Linked DNA regions of Homo sapiens: region 1 is linked to region 2. The links are contacts of gene promoters, found by promoter capture Hi-C in blood cells and fetal thymus (Javierre and others, 2016). All regions are on one chromosome and are shown on one strand. Each heading gives the region's core, a stretch centred on a gene start or on the middle of the fragment in contact. The rest is flanking DNA. Distances are from core to core; before and after follow the strand shown. Region 1 overlaps RELT (RELT TNF receptor). Region 2 holds the start of LAMTOR1 (late endosomal/lysosomal adaptor, MAPK and MTOR activator 1).

Region 1 (3,063 bases), core at 13-2,512, 1.3 Mb after region 2:
AGCCCCACCCCATCCACCTGAGCCACTGAAACCCAGGCCTGGTGGCAGCCAGGAGGTCTGAGGTGCAGAACCATGCCCAACTTCTGGGGGTGTTGCTGAGAGTGGGCTGGGGAGCAGCTGCTGCCTGGCCTCGAGGTGCTCCCCAGCCCTTGAGGGACTGGTTTATACCCCATCGTGGTGACCTGGGAGCTCATGGCTGCCCAGGGCTGTGGGAGGGGGCAGGAGTGGAGCACCTGTCTCACTGAGTGGCCCTGAGCCAGCCTCTGCACATCTCTGAGCTTCCAGCAGCAGCCCTAGTAAGCTGGGGTTCCACCCTGGGACCTCTTTTTCCCCGCTCTGGGAATTCCCAGACTTCCCCGGTCTTCCTGCCTCTTTCAGTTCACAGCTCCCTTTCCTGCCAGAGCTGGCACAGACTAGAACAATATGCAAATGAGTATAGATGCAGGCAACTCCTAGAGGCCCCATGGGATGGCGGTGCAGACAGCACCTTCTCCTGGGGCCCTCCTGGGTCCTTAGTAACAGACCCTCAGTTGAGCCACCTACTGGGTGCTACTAGCTTGCTAGCCTCCACCATCAGGTTGGCAAACACTGCAAGGACATTTACTATGTGCCAGGTCCTGGGCTAAGTTGCAGGGCAAAAGGAGGCAGAAAAGAGACAGTCCTGGGCTCCATTCCTGCTTCATCTCTTACTGGCTGTGTGACCCCCGCCAGTGACCTCCCCTGACCTCAGTTTGCCCAGCTGTGAAACAGGAATGCTCACTTCTCCTGCAAGGAAAGGCAGCAACCCAGGATGAGGGCCCGGCCTGCACAGGGCTGGGGTCCATTCCTTTCCCTGTGAGTGTGGAAGAGGGAAAGCCACTCAGCGTGGTCGCTGCCCTACTTCAGCCCCACTTGCCAGGGAACCGCTGGGCTCCTTGCTAACCTGGATTTCTCTGTTGATGGGTGGCCTTTGTCTTCCTGCCTTGGGTGTGGCCACCGCCAAGGGAGGCCTGTGTCCAGCTGTGTTTCCAGGCAACCCTAGCCTCTGGAGGCCAGAGGGAGGTCCACAGGCTCAGGAGCCACTATCTGGGAAGCAGAGTAGCTGCCTCCCTACCTGCCCTCCTCCAGGTGGGCACCAGCCCCCACCTCCATCTCCCCCAGTGCGGCCTCTCTTAGCAGGCAGCCTGGGGAGCCTGCTGAGACCGAACTGTTCATTCTTCTCCATCCCTTGCTTAACCCTTCCTGGCTCCCATAGGCCCTAGGGGGAAGTGCAGGCTTTTTGGCAGGCAGCTGAGCCTTGGTGTGACCTGAGCACTGCCCACCAACCTTCCCAGACTCCTCCAGACTCCTCCCGTCTTCTCCGCCCTCCCACCCTCCAGATTCCCACCAGGGCGAACCCAGCACCGCCTGTATACCAGACTCTGTGCCAGGCACTGAACGTAAATAAAAGGTTTGTGCCCTTCTCCTCCACATTCCACACGTAGGGAAACTGAGTCACAGTGAAGTGTGGGGAATGCTTACTCTGTGCCAGGCCTGTGCTGAGTACTTAATGTGATTCTCTTCTTTCAGCCTTACCACAGCCCTCTGCAGGCAGGCCACAGAGCCAGTGCAAGACAGAGCAGAGCAGGACTGCACCCCATACTTTGTATCCCCAGGTTAGCCCAGGGGTTCAGATCTGGGTTCTGACCCACCCCAGCCTCTGGGCTCCTTCCCCCTCAGCCTGCTCACTGGCTCTTCTAGCTCGGCATAGCTGGGCTCTCTACCAAGAGTGCCTTTTCTGCCTTCTCCCCCAAATCAGCCCATACCCGCCCAGGTCGGCACTGGGCATGGAGCAGGCAGCTCGTGGTGGGGAAAGGGCTGGGTAATAGGATCTGCATGGCACCATGAATGCTGAGGGGGAGGTGGGGGAGAGGGTACTTCCAGGAGGAAGTGACTTCGAGCTGAGCTCTAAGGAAGAGTGGGTGCTGGCCAAGCGATGAGGGGAGAGCAGAAAGCAGGTGCAGCGTGTGTGAGGGTGGAAAGCACTCAGCGTGGCAGGCGTGTGGGTGGGGGAGGTTGGTGGGGGCGCGTCACGACGCCATCCTGAGGGTGGTGGGAGCTGGCCCAGGGCCAGGGCCAGAACTGGGTGTCAGGGCACCTAGGCTGCAGGGCGGGACTGACCTGGAGGCCAGAGACAGGGCAAGGGGGCAAGAGCAATGGGCGCAGGCCTTGGGAGAGCTTAGGGACTGTAGGGAAGGGGAGGGCCCTGCCTAGGGGAGGGGGAGTGGCGTGGCAGGGCCCGGGTGACCCCAGCGAGCTTCAGTTCTGGGAAAGGGGAAGCTGCCTGTGGCCTGGGCTGGTGGCACAGCTTCCTCTTTCTCTGAGGCCTCCAGGCTGCACCTCCCTGGGGCTCCACCATCTGTGGCCTCAATCGTGGTCTGGGGCCCTCAGCTTGGGGGTCTGGCCGTGGCCTTTGCTAGTTGGCTTTTCTCCAGGGAATTTCTGGTTCTCATTGTTCGGGCATTTTTTTGGAGAGCTGAGTCTGAGGAAACCCTCCCCGCCTCGTGAGCCTGCTTGGAGGCCTCCCGCTTCAGACATGGGGCTGGGTGTGGAGTTTTGTGGCAAATAAAACAGACGTCCCTGCCCTCACCACTGTCTGGTGGGGGAGCAAGGAATAAACAAGTAAGCAAACAAATACTTAATCACAGCCCTCTGCCAGCAGGGCAGAGGAGAAGGGCTGTGGAGAAGGAAATCCCATGACCTACTTTAGCTTCATTACCTCCTTTAAACCCCATGACTGGCTGGGCACAGCGGCTCACACCTGGAATCCCAGTACTTTGGGAGGCCAAGGCGAGAGGATCGCTTGAGCCCAAGAGTTGGAGACCAGCCAGGGCAACATAATGAGACCCCGTCTCTACAGAAAATAAATTTAAAAATTTAGCCAGGCATGGTGGGGCATGCCTGCAGTCCTAGTTACTCAGGAGGCTGAAGCAGGAGGATCACTTAAAAGTTCAAAGTTGCAGTGAGCTGTGATCGTGCTACTGCAGTCCATCCTGGATGGCAGAGTGAGACACTGTCTCAGAAAAAACAAAACAGAAATTCCCC
Region 2 (3,377 bases), core at 516-3,015:
TATGACGGATGTCTGGCAAGAGTCAAATTAGATAACTGTGAAGGCCCTTTGTAAACTGTAACGTGTTGTATATTTTTTATTATGATAAAGAGACAGAGATGAGAGTCGGAGAGGGGCCTGCCCAAGAACTCAAAGAGGGACTGTGGGATGGTGGATGGTTATGGCCCTTGCTACATGAGGCCTCAAATCACCCAGCAGTGATTAAGCACCTTCTCTGGGTGTTAGGAACAGAAATGAGAGCCCCCCAAGGAGAAGGTAGAGATTCAGGAGAGCAGCAGGCCCAGCTCTCCCTTCCAAGTAGAAGCTTGTATCCTTTCTCATACGGCATTAATCCTTCTTGACTCATTCCCTGCAAGAGTCCATATTATGCTTTAAGGGACAATTTCCCACTAGGCTACAGCTCTCCCAGTAGGCAGGGTTATTGTTGTCTCTTTCTCAAAAAGGTGGAAGTGAAGTGAGAGGTATTAGGCACAACACATGCCTAACACAGGGCAAAGGAAATATGTGTTCATTGGGTGTATGGAGAATTGAGAACCAGAAGCCACCCTTGCTTCCCATACAAACGACATTTTCCTAGGCTTAAGCCCTTAATCCAAAATACGTTCACTGAAGAACGAACTACTTCCCAAGTACCAGTGATATAATCTATTTTTGTGACCATCTTCCCCATTAGACCGTGAGCTACCTGAAACCTTTCTACTCTCTCAGGTCTACTATATGTTCAAATGTAGAATCCGGGCTTAGAGACGATCAAAAAAGGAGAGTAGACAGCAACTTGAGACTTCATCCTTGAATGTCAGGCCAGGCAGGGCAGGGATTAGAGTGTGGGGAGAAGTGAGAATGCACTAAGAGGAAGAGGGAGAATTTAAAACTGTACAGGTCTCCCCAGCCTAACCCTTTCTCCAAAGGTATCAGATCTACAGCCAAATTCTCAGAATAGGCATGTCTCCAGCTAAAGGAACCCTCAGGCCCCAGGCAGACTGCACTGAGGCAAGCCAAACTCAGAACCAAATGAACTTCCCGCTCCATTTCTCTTTTCCCACAATCTAGCCAAAGCTAAATCCTCTTTGTTGCTTCCCAGACAATTTCCCACATGTCCCGATGTCCTCACTGTATCGATTAAATCCTTCATTGGCCAATTCAAAGGCCACCAACTTCCAGAGTCGTCCCCTGGCCCTAGACTAGCAGCGACCTTCCTTCTGCAACCCCAGGGACTAAGACGATACACGAATTCCTGATTCATCTCAGGACAGACTAACTCAGGGCCTCAGCTTACCCACCCCTAAAATGGATTCGCAAAGCCCACTAATACACAGAAGACACAGGAAGCTGGGGAAGGGAGTGTTTCCCGGGGACCTAGACTGAGGATCCTTGAATCTGAAAAGTTTTGAAGGTAGGAGCAAACGGAAGTGGTGGGAGCGAGCCGGACAGGCGGCTGCCTGCACACCCCGAGGCGGGGACTGTGTAGAAATCTGGGGCTTTAACAGGGGTAGGAGCCCGGCTTGGCGTCTCCTCTGTAATCTGTCCCCTCCAGGCCTCCGTATTCAGTGAGCCCTGCAGTCCGGCTGCCCGTCCTCCGCAGGTTTCTTTCTGGGCCCCATGCCCCAGTGTCTTAGCCCTCATTCCCGAGCCCCGCCTGCCGCGGCCGCACCTGGTCCGAGTCCTCGTTCTCGCTGCTGTAGCAGCACCCCATGGCCGGGGTCGGGCCGGGCGCTCAGGCCGCGCCGAGGAGGGACGGCGTCCGTGAGGAGCCCTTCCGGTCACATGACCCGCGGCGGCCTCCCGCAGGCAACCACCCGCCCCCACCCCCCGTACCCCCTGTCCCGGAGCCGCTTGGCCGCCTCAGTCAATACCCCGGCTTCCGGTCCCGCCCGCTAGCGCGTGATCGTTGTCAACCAATGGGAAGGCGTAACCGTACACGCAAGCACGTGATGCGGGGAAAGGGCGGGGCGGATCACATGACTTCATCTTTCCAGTCTCTAAACTGGCAGTAGTGGCCATCGTGAATTGTGTTATGCGTTCTCGTGGCCACTAGGCCACTTTTCTGGGCCATTGAGCGAACTCGTACCAAATGCCCTCGTATGCCCTTGTGATATACTCTTCTAAATGCCATGCGAGGGGCGACTGGGATCCAGGCCTGATGCTCCAGATCGTACGGTCTGGGTGCACACACACAGATGATCCAGATGACCAGTACCTAGTCGGGGAACACAGAGGGTGTATCGCCCAGCTGGGCTGGGGGTGAATACACAGAGGGTGTATTCTCCACCTGGGCTGGGGATCTGCGACTTACAGGAAGAAGGGACCTTATACTACCTTCACATGCTGACGCGCAGCGGAGATAAATCCTGGTAGAGGAGATAGAAGCCACCTCACTGACCTCTCTGCTTTCAGGCTTTTATCTTTAATTCTGCCTTTTTTAACAGCACCCATTGTAATCGAACGCACAAAGCTGACCATCAGTTCTCTTTTCCTAACCCCCGCTCCATGTCTTCCCTTGGGCCCTGAACACAGGTCCAAGTCCGTCCAAGATTGTATAGTGATCCATTTGTTGTTCATGAGCGTGTGATTGGGTGTTCACCAGCATGTATCAAATGTGCCACCCTCAAATCTTGTTTTGGCACATTACCCGTCTGACATAACAAGAGCCTGACACCTCTCCCACTGCATGTTCTGGGGTGAGGGGTGGAGGGGTCAGCAATGTGTTTCACTGGACATAGAGAAATAATGTAGTTTCCTGATTGATCTACTGGACTTTGTACATGCAGCCTGGTCTGCCTACTGTCTTTACTGTCTTCGAGACTCAGTACAATGTCCTCCTGATTACCTTCTCTGACTCCATTCTCTGGACATGCCCAGCTCCCTATGCTTAATCCTCATCCAGTGTTAATTCATGCATTTATTGAATCAACAAATATTTGCTGAGCGTCTACTATGTGCCACACATTGTTATATCTGGATATGCAGCAGTTCACAAAACAGCCAAAGTCCCTGTAGTCATGGAACATCCAATAGTGATCACACTATATTGTATTCTCTGTTCCTGGGTCAGTCTCACCTACCAAACTTGGGAGTTCCTGGAGCACAGTGACAGGTTCTGACTCTTCCCTGTAGCCCAAGGCATGGCCTTGCTTACAGAAAACTTGCATATCAATGAGCATGTTACAGTCACCCCATCACCTTGGCTCACCCCATGCCCCATCTTCTGATCCAAAGTATTGGAGAAGTCACCAGATCTCATACCTCTTATAACCCCTCAAATCAAGACCCTGAGGTTCTGTAAATCTTTTGAGGTTCCTGAAGGGTAGGAGGCAGCTCAAGCTCGTCCCTGGGGCTGGTAACTTGAACTGCAGGTCTCAGGTGACAGCAGCAGCCTC

The links. Contacts are between HindIII fragments. The CHiCAGO score rates a contact against its expected background, and 5 or more counts as called.
Region 1: a fragment that was not itself captured here is called in contact with the fragment with the promoter of LAMTOR1 in region 2 in 1 of 17 cell types (neutrophils); the score reaches 5.4 in neutrophils.

Annotation. Positions count from the first base shown.
Region 1 is chr11:73,382,988-73,386,050 of GRCh38, forward strand. All of the region lies in intron 1 of RELT (RELT TNF receptor), which reads left to right. Among named protein-coding and RNA genes, the nearest start is that of RELT, 8.1 kb to the left of the region's middle. RefSeq lists a silencer at 2,124-2,363. The HindIII fragment of the contact is 8,583 bases long and covers 1-3,063 here.
Region 2 is chr11:72,101,532-72,104,908 of GRCh38, forward strand. LAMTOR1 (late endosomal/lysosomal adaptor, MAPK and MTOR activator 1) reads right to left here and starts at 1,766. Exons shown (of 5, transcript NM_017907.3): 1 at 1,652-1,766. The coding sequence starts at 1,693. The region is part of intron 5 of LRTOMT (leucine rich transmembrane and O-methyltransferase domain containing); the gene reads left to right. It also overlaps the pseudogene LOC124902837. RefSeq lists enhancers at 1,472-1,551, 2,332-2,852 and a silencer at 1,652-1,921. The HindIII fragment of the contact is 8,877 bases long and covers 303-3,377 here.